Linked DNA regions of Homo sapiens: regions 1 and 2 are each linked to region 3. The links are contacts of gene promoters, found by promoter capture Hi-C in human tissues and cell types (Jung and others, 2019). All regions are on one chromosome and are shown on one strand. Each heading gives the region's core, a stretch centred on a gene start or on the middle of the fragment in contact. The rest is flanking DNA. Distances are from core to core; before and after follow the strand shown.

Region 1 (4,573 bases), core at 1-2,500, 210 kb after region 3:
GGAATCAGATGTTTTTAATACAAACCTTCACTGTTTCCTTAATCTTCCATACAATTTGATTTTGGAGGGATGCTTCACAGAGAATATAGTCGGGTGCAATGCAGGTTTGGCCACAATTCATGTATTTTCCCCAGGTTATGCGTCTGAGGGGAAAACATCCAGAACAGCTATATAATTCAGTAATTCAGTCAAATATTCATTTGTTACATTGTGTTGTTTGAATGTCTTGCAACTAAAATAGATTCATATATTTATCTGGCAATTTTTATAAAAAAGTTAAAAACTCATTTCTAAATCAGTTGTTTGGAACTTAGAAAGTATTTTCCAAATGAGGTGGAATATTTTACATAGCAGGGAAGTTCTCAGGCCAGCTCACGGCAAACAGTACTTGGTAAACAGTGAAGCCATTGCCTGCTGCAGGAAAAGAGGAGAAACAGCCTCCCAATGTCCTTTCCCCTCTTCCAGTCCAGCCAAAGGAAAGTCCTGGATGACCAGAGTTCGGTACAGACTCTCCTGGTTGTGGCTTTTGGCTCTGCCTGCAAGATGTTCAGGTATAAAGCAGGATGTCAGCCAGCCTCCAAGGCCATCCTCCTCTTTGTGGAGCCCTGCCCCACTTGGGAAGACCTTTCCTATGCATGGGCAGAAACCCATGCCCTAAACATTCACTAACTGAGGGTGTCTGGTTTTGACAAATGGATTTCTACTTAGGAAGCCAACCTGGAACCCTGACCTGGAATCTCTGAAGGGCAGAGAAAGCCACACCACCCAGAGCACAGAGTCAGTTCTATGATTTGGCACTTCTTAGTAGCTAAACCGGATTTAGCAGAGAGAACCTGAAACCTCTTATTTTCTAATTTTCAGATGCAAGATGTTATTCACAGTTAAAAAATGAGGAACACTTGTTTTGCCCACAAAGGATCTCAGTTAAGATATCAGCATAATACCCTCTCAAATGGGCATTTAAAGATTTTATTAGGCACACACAATACTTTGGATTATGTACTTCACAGATCACTGGCCAGAAGAACGTTAAAATTTCTTGCTAGATCTAGCTGTAATCTTGAGAACAGATATAACTTTTTTAAAATTCCTAAGGACAACCACATGATGTCAGGACTTACAGCTCACCATTTTTGACAGTGGCGCCAAGAGACAGTGAAAGACTCCTGTTACTCTTGAGGACATCAACCACCAAAGCTTAATAATGTATCTTGGAGCCATAAGGTATGGGGTTCAAGTACAAAGAGTAACATTGTCAGGAAAAGTCTCCATTGTGCTGGGAAAACCTCAGAAAATCAGAGAGCCAGACTCACCTGCAAACAATGTCCAGGTCACAATCTTTATCAATATAACATGGACTTTTCCCTCCCAGTTCAAGAGTCACAGGGGTCAGATGCTTGGCAGCAGCTTCCATGACAATTTTGCCAACCGCAGTGTTTCCCGTATAGAAAATGTGGTCAAATCGCTGCTTCAGGAGCTCCGTGGTTTCCTCAACACCACCATTAATAACAATATAGAGATCCTCAAAGAAAGAGAAACACAAACTCTTGCACTGCCAAATAAATCCTAACGTCTAACATCAGCAATCTCTTCAACATAAACATGTAACATTCAGTAAAACCCAGAGAGTGTCAAGACCAGTCCCTGTGAGGGATGGGAGAGGGAACTGACCAAGGACAAGAGGAGAACACACAGTCCGATGGCATCTGGGAAGCATGAACCCACATAGAACTAATCTGGAGACTCCAGTGTTTTTTTACATGAGCTCAGCAACAAAGACACTAAGGAGAACAAATGGTTGAATTTGACCAGGGAAAATGCATGAGACGCGGGTGTGTGCAGAAGTGCCTCTGGTGAAGAGTGGCTCCCACAGGACAGGTCATGCATGTCTTAGTCTGAATGTTCTCTGTCTCACAACACAGAGTGGGCTTAGCCCACGCTATTCTGAATGAATGGTATATCCGGCACAGTAGCTGAGAGCGCTTGCTTTTGAAGTGTATCTGGTTTGAATCTGGGCTCTGCCACTCACTAGCTTATGCAACCTTAGGCAAGCTACTGAACATCTCTGAGCCTCAATTTCCTCATCTGTTACTGGGAGAATTCACGTAGCTTCTGTGGACTGAGCCCATCTATGCATTGTGCTATCATTACCAGCTATTCTAAGAGAGAACATCTTGGACAATAACAGCATCAAAAGTAAGAGAACAGATGGCAAGCAAGGAAGACAGAGAGGTATTCAAGACTCCAAGGTGGAAGTGTGAAGTAAAAGCTGGCTTGTGGATCTCATGTTTCCACTTGAAGGCGAATTAATTTCATTCACTTCATGGTTCAGCTGCCCAACAAATGTTTCAAGCTTTAACTTTTCTATGGCTTAATCTACATAGCATATATTATTGATCCCCTAACACGGTAACTGAAGCTGGTAGAGCATTATTATCCTCCTTATCCGGACAGAGTCAGTTATTGAAGAATTTACCCCTGGTCAGGGGCAAAGCGGTACCTTCAACCTCTATCTTCTGGTTCTACGTCCTATTCAATCCTTGACATCTCACTGTCTTCCATTTCATCTTTCTTGATTGGATCATCACAGCTATTAGAACAAAATGGCTCTAACAAAGAGAAAAATATCATTCCAAGAACCAGAACTGGCCTCAATCCATCACAAGTTGATGTACAGAATACAGGTAAGATATTTTTAAGCTGTATTTCGCTTAAAGCTAAATGAAGACTCCTCCCTGTAGCAACTGCATGTAGAACTCAGCAGTGCCAATTTCTTCGCGGCATCATAACTTCCTCCCCAGGAAGGCATAAGAACCTCTGACTCAGACAGATGAACTACCCGCAGTTGGGCAGATCATTTTCTTTATTCAGTTCTTGATATTCTTAAATGCCAGCATGTTAAGTCAGTGTGAGGATCTGCCCTCTAGTTCAGGAGGGCACTTTTTGTGTATGTGTGGCATGTTTTCATGCCACAGACATGTCTTTTTTGAAAGCAGAAGTACTCTTATAGGCTGGGTGAGAGGTGAGAGCGTGCGGGCAACCCTTGCTCGCTCTCAGCACCTCCTTGGCCTTGGCACCCACTCTCGCCACGCTTGAGGAGCCCTTCAGCCCACAGCTGCACTGTGGGAGCCCCTCTCTGGGCTGGCCAAGGCTGGAGCCGGCTCCTTCTGCTTGTGGGAAGGTGTGGAGGGAGAGGCGCAGGCAGGAACCGGGGCTGCGCGTGGCGCTCACAAGCCAGAGCGAGTTCTGGGTGGGCGCAGGCTCAATGGGCCCCACACTCGGAGCAGCTGGCCGGCGCCGCCAGCCCTGGGCAATGAGGGGCTTAGCACCTGGGCCAGCTGCTGAGGAGGGTGCCCCGGGTCCCCCAGCAATGCCAGCCCACCAGCGCCACACTCGAATTCTCGCCGGGCCTCAGCCACCTCCCCGCAGGGCAGGGCTCGGGACCTGCAGCCCGCCATGCCCAAGGCCCCCACCCCGCCCCTGGTGGGTTCCCATGCTGCCCGAGCCTCCCTGATGGGCGCCGCCCCCTGCTCCACAGCGCCCAGTCCCATCGACCGCCCAAGGGCTGAGGGGTGCAGGCGCGCAGCGCTGGACTGATGGGCAGCTCCACCCACAGCCCCGGCGTGGGATCCACTAGGCAAAGCCAGCTGGGCTCCTGAGTCGGGTGGGGACTTAGAGAACTTTTATGTCTAGCCGGAGGATTGTATATGCACCAATCAGCACTCTGTGTCTAGCTTGGGGTTTGTGGATGCACCAATCAGCACTCTGTATCTAGCTAATCTGGTGGGGATTTGGAGAACTTTTATGTCTAGCTAGAGGATTGTAAAAGCACCAGTCAGCACTCTATGTCTAGCTCAAGGTTTGTAAATGCACCAATCAGTGCTCTGTGTCTAGCTAATCTAGTGGGGACTTGGAGAACTTTTATGTCTAGCTAGAGGATTGTAAATGCACCAATCAGCATTCTGTGTCTAGCTCAGGGATTGTAAACGCACCAATCAGCACCCTGTCAAAACGGACCAATCAGCTCTCTGTAAAATGGACCAATCAGCAGGATGCGGGTGGGGCCAGATAAGGGAATAAAAGCAGGCTGCCCAAGCCAGCAGCGGCAACCTGCTCGGGTCCCCTTTGACACTGTGGAAGCTTTGTTCTTTCAGTCTTTGCAATAAATCTTGCTGCTGCTGCTCACTCTGGGTCCGCACTGCCGTTATGAGCTGTAACACTCACTGCGAAGGTCTGCAGCTTCACTCCTGAGGCCAGCGAGACCACGAACCCACCGGGAGGAATGAACAACTCCAGACAGGAGGAACTAACAACTCCAGATGCGCCGCCTTAAGAGCTGTAACACTCACCACGAAGGTCTGCAGCTTCACTCCTGAAGCCAGCAAGACCACGAACCCACCAGAAGGAAGAAACTCCGAACATGTCCGAACATCAGAAGAAACAAACTCCGGACACACCATCTTTAAGAACTGTAACACTCACTGCAAGGGTCCGCGGCTTCATTCTTGAAGTCAGTGAGACCGAGAACCCACCAATTCCAGACACATGGGCATGGTGGCTCACACCTGTAATC
Region 2 (4,245 bases), core at 899-3,398, 240 kb before region 3:
CCTCCAGCATTTAATGTTAGCCAGTCTATGTGGAATCCTGACAATCCCTCAGGTGGTTTAGAATCTGTCAGGATCAATAAATGGCTCTCCTTCACACACAAACAAAACATCATCATCCCTGATCAAAGCAATATCATCAATCAGTCCACCTTTGCCATTATACACACTGGTGGCTTTTATGCCAAGTTTACCACTGGCCACAGAAAGCAAATCAGATAAAGTTCCACATACAGCAACCACCTTTCCCTTCTTGGGGCTGCCGTTCAGGAACAGGGCCACCCACCTCATCGCGCTGCCCCCCCCCTGGGTCCTGAGTGAGCCACCACCCTCCCACCCGATCCTCCTCCCACCTTTTTCTCCTTCCGCCTTTCCCCTCCCTCCACCCACTGGGATTCGCCTCCTTTCGCCACCTTCCTGCTTTTGGGGACACACCACACACACGCAATTTGTCCCACACCCGGGACTCGGCTGGTCCTCATTCCCACCCTGCCCCTAGGCTCCTCCCAGTCTGTCTTTTTTTGAGTGGGGCTTTATTAACTTTTGGGATCACTGTTAGGCTGGCTTGATAAAAATAAATGGTACTTTTGTTTATTGTATTTTAAAAACCAAGTGTGTGTGTATGTTTAATACAATATCAGTATTTACAATGGTAAAGCCATTATATAGAAAAACCAGGCCATTCCCTTTATATCCAAGAAAAGAATACCTTGTATGGTTTTCACAGATTCAACTTTTTAAAAACTGATAAATTAAAATATACCTTTTGAGATCTAGCCTGAATGTGACTTTTACGAAAAGAGCACAAAAATTATAAGTGCCCCTTCAACACATTAAAAATTAGTAACGATGTATTTCAGTTATTTTTCCCGTCTTAGACAATTTAGCAATACACTGAGGGCTGCACTGTAAGAGTTAGGCCATGAAAGCTTAAGAGTTATTATCTATATGCACAAAGAGAGAATTAAATAAATTCTTTGATATTTCATGTTTCACATGCTCTGAACTCAAATATAATGATTGAAAAACCCTTTTCTGATTCTTAAAAAATGAGTAACACTGAGAAGGTTCACAGCTTCCTGTTGCCACTGCCGTCCAAGCCACTCTGAGCAGCCTTCCACAGCTGCTGGGCGAGGCTCTTCCCAGCTTTCCATAGGGTTCAGTACAAATATTAGACACCCACCTTCGCAAGGGATCAACAGGGTTCATTCATTCCTCTAATGCATTCTGTATCAAGACAGCCCCAGAACATATGCCGCCCTGCTTGGATGTCAGAAGGATTTCACACGTGCATGGTGACAAATGGACCTCCGAAGGGACCAAAGAAACCACAGCACGCCCAGTTACCTTTTGCTTCTCATCGGTCTCCCCACTCTATAGATGTAAACTCCCTGTGGGCAGCGACATCGTCTGCCTAAAACAGTTCCGGCCCAGGGTAAGTGGTCAAGAAATATTTCACGAGGGAAGGAATGGATGGGTCATGGGTCACTGAAGTGCTTCCATGCGGCCAGGACTGATGGCCTGCCGAGCCCACCTGCCCGGTCCCTCCTACCTGTGCCGCTCCTCAGGCGGCTCTCCGTGAGCTCCGAGATGGCTCCGGCAGTGGCGGTCTTCTTCAGGCGAACCACCCCCGATGCAGCGGTACTTCCTGGCTTGTTGAGCGTGTCCTCACTGCTGGCCCTCTTGAGCTGAGAGAGTTGGAAGGAAAGAGAGAGGATGAAGAGGTGGTTTTCAGGAAGGAGCGCTATAAACAAGCAGAGCATGGGAGCTGGGCTATGTGCCCAGCAGTCAAGATACAATAACAGCACTTTGAGTAGCATGATAGAGTGAAGTGAAAAAATGCAAAGCTACACAAACCTGTTTCTGTCATAACAGGTCCGAGTATGATCTCCCATGACTGTTTCAAAGAGCAGTGTCTAAGACTGTGCGTGAAGAATACCATCAGGTCACACTTCAAGTAATGAGCCTTAAAAAATGTGGCTGGGCACAGTGACTCACGACTGTAGTCCCAGAACTTTGGGAGGCTGAGGTGGGAGGACTGCTGGGCTCAGGAGTTCAAGACCAGCCTGGGCAACAGTGAGACTCTGTCTCGCTAATATTTTTTTTTAATTAGCTGGGCATGGTGACACCCAGGAGGCTGAGGTGAGAGGATTGCTTGAGCCCAGAAGTTCAAGGTTGCAGTAAGCTATGATTGTGCCATTGTACTCCAGCCTGGGTGACAAAGTGAAACCTCGTCTCTAAACAAAAATTTTAAATAAAAAATAAATCTGCTCTCCTGGTGGGGGAAAAAAAGAATGGGAACCAATGAAAAAAGAACTGGGAGATGCACAAAAGGCAGGGTAGGGCAATGCAAAAGAAATTCCAGGACAACAAAAAAAGGCTCATGACATAGGCCAGGAGGAGGTGGAGGGAGAGAAACAATCTGAGTATCTGCTGTGGCCTCACCACCAAGCATTCTGTAGATGATCTGACACAGAAAATGTGTTCAAAGGTGAGAAAGGAAATCTTGGAGGCTGGAAGACAGAAGAAAGCAGCGCCCTCTGTTCTGGCTTTGCTTTCTTCCCTGTCATGGGACAAACATTTGCTAAAAGGTGCTGAAGTCTAAGAAAGGAGACTCCTAAGTGATCCACACTTCAGGCCCAGATAGATTACATTCAACGTTAATGAGAAAAACCACAACTGAATTCTCTCAACTACTGTTGGGTCTTCATGAAAGAAGGCTCTGGAGAGGAACAGTGCCGGAAGACTGGAGAAGGCAGCTGCCCAAAGCTGTCTAATGTATCTGACATCCAGAGCACACAGTAAGGAAAAGCCCTTAAATCAATGTCGATATGCAGTGGGCGAGCCCCGCCCATCACACAGGCTGAAGGGAAAAGCCCTGCTCCATCCTACTCCACTGGCTTTGGGGTCATTTACTGAGAGTTAGAAGTTTAAATATTTGCACAATTTTTTAAAGTTTCCATCTTTGCATCATTTAAATTTCAGGGTGTAACCACCCTCACCCCACCATAGTTTGAAAGTGAATAAACACCAATACCAAGTGTTGGTGAGGCTGTGAAGCAACTGGAACACTCATGCCCTGTGAGTGGAAGTGTAAACTGGCATAACTGCTTTGGAAAGTGGCAGTATCTACTAACGCTAAGGCTGGAAAATAGAAGAAAGCAACACCCTCTGCTCTTGCTTTGCTTTCTTCCCTGTCATGAAAGGGGTAGGACAAACATTTGCTGAAAGGCAGTAAGTCGAAGAAGGGAGACTCCTAAGTGAGCACGCACAGTTCCCTGTGACTCAGCAATCCCATTCCTAGATCCGCACCCAAGAGAAGCAAGTACATAGGTCCCTCAAAAGAATGTTCATAGCACCTTTTTTATAGCAGCCCAAAACTAGAACAACCCAAATGTCCTTCAACAGAGAGGATAAATGCAATGAGAACCACACAGCAAATAGGAAAAAAATGAATTACTGATATACTAATAAATGGGTGGCTGTCCCAGGTATTATGCTAAGTGAAAGAAGCAGACACAAAAGAGTATATACTGCCTGATTCCACTTGTATTAAGTTTAAAAGCTGCACAATCAAATGATGGTAATATAAGTCAGAATAGTGGTTACCTCTCGGGGAGTTACAACCAAAAAGAAACCTTCTGGGGTGCTGGAACGTTCAACATATTGACAGGGTGGTGGTTACACAAGTGTAAAAAAATATAAACATGCAATGAGCTTTATAGCTAAGATTAAGATTAGTGTACTTTATGGATTTTATTGTAAATATGCTGTGCTTCATTAAAACAGAAAAAGAAAATTGGAGTGAAGGAAGTTTGCAATTTAGGCAAAGTCCTAGTTCCACTCCTGCAAATACTAGCCTTCTGGGTTTTTTTTTTTTCCTTTTTTTTGTAATTTTTAAAACTTTACTGTGCTAAAATAAGCATAATATAAAATTCACCATTTTAAGTGCACAATTCAGTGGTATTAAATACATTCACCATGTTGTACAACCATCACCACCATCCATCTCCAGAAATTTTTACCATCACAAATAAAGTCTACTCATTAAACAGTAACTCGCCATTGCCTTTTAACAAGAGGGATGACGGTAGAAGTCTTTTTGTTTTTTTAGAGACAAGGTCTTGCTCTGTTACACAGGCAGGAGTGTAGTAGTTCAAACATGGCTCATTGCAGCCTTGAATTCCTGGGCTTTCCTGCCTCAGCCTCCCAAGTAGCTAGGACTATAGGTGCACAACACTATGCCTG
Region 3 (4,077 bases), core at 627-3,126:
GAGGCAGGAGAATGGCGTGAACCCGGGAGGCAGAGCTTGCAGTGAGCTGAGATCGTGCCACTGCACTCCAGTCTGGGCGACAGAGCAAGACTCCGTCTCAAAACAAACAAACAAACAAACAAAAAACCTTCATGTGGCTAGGTGAGGTGGCTCACACCTATAATCCCAGCACTTTGGGAGGCCGAAGTGGGCGGATCGCTTGAAGTTGGGAGTTTTGAGACCAGCCTAGCCAACATGGTGAAACCCCACCTCTACTAAAAAAAAAAAAATTAGCCGGGCATGGTGGTGCAGGTCTGCAATCCCAGATACTTGGGAGGCTGAGGCAGGAGAATCACTTGAACCCAGGAGGCGGAGGCTGCAGTGGGCCGAGATCATGCCATTGCACTCCAGCCTGGGCAACAGAGCAAGACTCTGTCTCAAAACAAAAAACAGGCCGGGCGTGGTGGCTCACGCCTGTAATCCCAGCACTTTGAGAGGCCGAGACAGGCTGATCCCTTGAAGTTGGGAGTTTGAGACCAGCCTGGCCAACATGGTGAAACCCCATCTCTACTAAGATACAAAAATTAGCTGGGCGTGGTGGTGCGTGCCTGTAATTCTAGCTGCTTGGGAGGCTCAGGCAGCAGAATCACTTGCACTTGGGAGGCAGAGGTTGCAGTGAACCAAGATTGTGCTACCGCACTCCAGCCTGGGTGACAGAGTAAGATTCTGTCTCAAAAAAAAAAAAAAAAAAAAAAGTAAACAAAAAAATAGACTGTAGAGAATCTTTCAGTGAGGTAAGGAATCATCTCCATCCATTTTTGGGTGTATGTGCAAACTTGCTTAAGTTGCTGTCAACTTTTGAAGGCTCCAGATTTTCAGTGTCTAACACAACCACCTGGGCCAGATGTAAGTAAGGACAGGATAACGTAAGCGTGCACAGTAGCAGAAGCAGAAACTCAAGGCCCTACGTTTTGAGCGTGTGAGGAAGGAGCGTTCTCTCAGAATCCTGGAGCTGACTCTGTCATGGTTCAGAGATCAGCTTGCAGGGACAGGCAGTGGCAGTCGAGGTGGTGACAGACCCCAAAAGCACATACCCTATACAACCGAACACACACTCAAGTGTGGAGCCTGCGTATTCCATGGTAGTTTCAAGCATATTGTTTATTAAATGGTTTCATAAGACACTTCTTTGCGGGAAACCTGACAATCTGTTCCTTGTCACTTGGACAGCTTTAACAATCAGGTAGAAAAGAAAGCTCCCTTCGGCCATGTGAAGTAAGCCCGAGGTCAAACTAGCCTGACACTAGGAGCTCCCAGGAGAACCTTGAAAACGTGTGCGATTCTGAGTCGGTGTGCAGAAACGATTCTCTGCGAAGAGGGCCCTGAGCTGTCACCAGCTTCTCGCAGTCAAGGGACCCCCAAAAGGTGCAGAATCCCGCCTGTCACCGTCCCTCTAGGGATCCTAAGCGAGTAAACCCCGAGAGGCGTCCGAAGGCTGGCAGTTTGGCAGCGTGAACTCTGGTTTTCCAGAGCGCGGGCAAAGCCTGGAGTAGCAGTTGCTCCTTTGCTCTGGCAGGAATCTGGGGGTCTACCCTGCGCAGATAATCCCGTCCTGCCTGCAGCTGGGGTTCAAGACCCGCTTCTCTGAAGTCCGCCTCCCAGCGGCCTGGAGCCCGGGGCGTGGTCGGCTCGAATCTGCTCCCCAGGCCCAGAACGGAGCCCGCAGCCCGTAACCCGCTGTGGCCGCAGCGGGTCGCGCCCTTCGTCCCCGCCTCAGGAGCGGCCGAGGATCTGCCCAGCTGCGGGCGCCAAGCCCTGGCCGCACTCCTTTCCCCGGCGGAGGGAGCCGGCTGGCGCTGCGGCCTTCAAGGCGCGCGGACGTCGCGGAGGGCAGCCAGTCGCGCGGGAGCGGGTAGCGCGCGCGAGGGCGTTGGGCGCCGCCGCGAGGCGGGGAAGCGCGGGGCCGCGGCGGTGCGGGTTCTAGGGCGGCGGCCGTCGCCGTCGCAGCAGCGCCCCGAGCGGGGAGGGCCGAGGAGGCCCGACGAGCTGGGGATGGAGAGTACCGGGCCCCTCACTGCCTCAGAGCGCGTGTGCGGCTCTGGGCGCGCACAGTGACGGTGACGGCACCCCTGGCCCGGCAGCGCCGAGGCCGCTTCGCCAGACAGCCAGCGGCCGGCGGCAGGCCGGGCCATGAGCGGCAGGGGCCGGGCCGGGCCTCGCTGACCCTGGCTCCGCGCGGCAGCTTCCCCAGTTTCCGCTCCGGTCTCTCGGCATGAGAGTCCGCCCGGGCCCGGGGCTGCGGCTGCCCCAGACCCGCCGCACGCTGGCGCGCTCCGGGCCCGCGGAGCCGCGGTGCTGATACCTGCGCCGCACTGCGCCGCCCGCCCGTCCGCTGTGTGCCCCGGGGGCGCGGCCATGGAGGTGGTGGGTGACTTCGAGTACAGCAAGAGGGATCTCGTGGGACACGGGGCCTTCGCCGTGGTCTTCCGGGGGCGGCACCGCCAGGTGAGCGCCGGCCGGGGCGAGGCCGGGCCCCGGGCGGCAGGCACGGGGCTAGGTGGTTCTGAAACTTGGCGCAGCCGCGAGCCGAGACCCCCGACTCGGCTAGCCGCCCGGGTATGCTATTGTGCGCGCAGCCCGTCTCGCCGTTTGTTTTGGTCCTGTGAGGGTTGTTGTGAGGCCCAAGCCTCTGGCAGCGCTCCGCCTACCGACCGGCTGCTGCTGATCCTCCTGTGTGCCCGGGGCCCACCCCGCGGTCCGCCCGCAGGAGCGTTTGCACCCAGGTTACCCTGGACCCAAAATAGACGGTACTGCACCGTGCAGACTCGAGGGTTGGGCGTGAATGGACCTTTGGTTTTTTTCCCCGTGCCCAGGGCTGGTCACTTTTGAGGTTGATAATTACAGACCCAGCGGAAAATGGGCGGATGTCCCATTAGCCTCAGGCTTTCGCAGCCTGGGAGGTGTCACCTTTCCCAGCACTGGTCCCCTGCACCCCGAAGAGCCCCCGTACCGTTTTCCCCCCCGGAGTCAGATAGACGAGCTCCGGGTGAGAAAGGTGGTTGGACAATTCATTTTCAATCACCTTGAACATGAAATCACCTTTAAGCCTTAAAAAAATTGTTTTAAGCCTTTGCTGTTTCGCAAGTACAGTTACACGAGGTTTTAGAATCTAAAGAATTTGGAAAGGCATATCGGGAGTGGAAATAATCTTAAAGGGTGTGGCAGTTCTGATTGTTGCCCAAGGGGCGTGTTAAAAGTGGGCTGACTTTGTTGCTTATCGGATGAAGTAATGCTACTTTTCTTATTTATTTATTTATTTATTTTTGAGACAGAGTCTCGCTTTGTCGCCGAGGCTGGAGTGCCGTGGCGAGATCTCCGCTCACTGCAACCGCTGCCTCCCGGGCTCAAGCGATTCTCCTGCCTCAGCCTCCTGAGTAGCTGGGATTACAGGTGCCCGCCACCACGCCCGCCTAATTTTTTTTTTTTTGTATTTTTAGTAGAGATGGGGTTTCACCACGTTGGCCAGTGTGGTCTTGAACTCCTGACCTCAGGTGATCCGATCTGCCCGCCTCAGCCTCCCAAAGTGCTGGGATTACAGGTGTGAGCCACGGCTCCCGGCCTACTTTTCATTTATTAGGAAAATAATTTAGAACTCAAGCACGGTGTAATCCTTCCAAGCTAACAAATAACTTTTCAATTAACTGTATCACCTTCCAAGTTTATTTCTACATTTGTCCATAACTTTGAAGTGGTTGTGAACTGTTCTTTTTTCATTTAATGTTAGTTACCATGTGGACTTCATATTTGTTATTTTTAGAAGTTGTGTTGTAGGATCTTGGCATATTGCACTATAATTTATGAAATCACTTTCCAATTATTGAAAATAATTCCATTTTTCCCCAATGCCGTACATTTATTTGCCAAAAACACCTTCGCGCTTGTAAATTTTTTTCTGTTATTTATGTGGAATGGTATCTAGGAGTAACACTGTTTTTCCTTTTCAGAAAACTGATTGGGAGGTAGCTATTAAAAGTATTAATAAAAAGAACTTGTCAAAATCACAAATACTGCTTGGAAAGGAAATTAAAATCTTAAAGG

Evidence for each region. Contacts are between HindIII fragments. The study calls those that stand out against the background at their distance.
Region 1: a contact is called between a fragment that was not itself captured here and the fragment with the promoter of ULK2 in region 3, in 1 of the 25 tissues and cell types used here (dorsolateral prefrontal cortex).
Region 2: a contact is called between a fragment that was not itself captured here and the fragment with the promoter of ULK2 in region 3, in 1 of the 25 tissues and cell types used here (lymphoblastoid cells).

What each region holds. Positions count from the first base shown.
Region 1 is chr17:19,653,315-19,657,887 of GRCh38, reverse strand. ALDH3A2 (aldehyde dehydrogenase 3 family member A2) reads right to left here. Exons shown (of 10, transcript NM_000382.3): 4 at 1,314-1,522; 5 at 26-143. Among named protein-coding and RNA genes, the nearest start is that of ALDH3A2, 6.8 kb to the right of the region's middle. The HindIII fragment of the contact is 6,920 bases long and covers 1-4,573 here.
Region 2 is chr17:20,107,867-20,112,111 of GRCh38, reverse strand. SPECC1 (sperm antigen with calponin homology and coiled-coil domains 1) reads right to left here. Exons shown (of 15, transcript NM_001243439.2): 3 at 1,550-1,685. It also overlaps the pseudogene KCTD9P1. Among named protein-coding and RNA genes, the nearest start is that of SPECC1, 100 kb to the right of the region's middle. The HindIII fragment of the contact is 5,222 bases long and covers 1-4,245 here.
Region 3 is chr17:19,865,735-19,869,811 of GRCh38, reverse strand. ULK2 (unc-51 like autophagy activating kinase 2) reads left to right here and starts at 1,876. Exons shown (of 27, transcript NM_014683.4): 1 at 1,876-2,484; 2 at 3,984-4,076. The coding sequence starts at 2,395. RefSeq lists silencers at 1,823-2,412, 2,493-2,672 and an enhancer at 2,251-2,759. The HindIII fragment of the contact is 32,590 bases long and covers 1-4,077 here.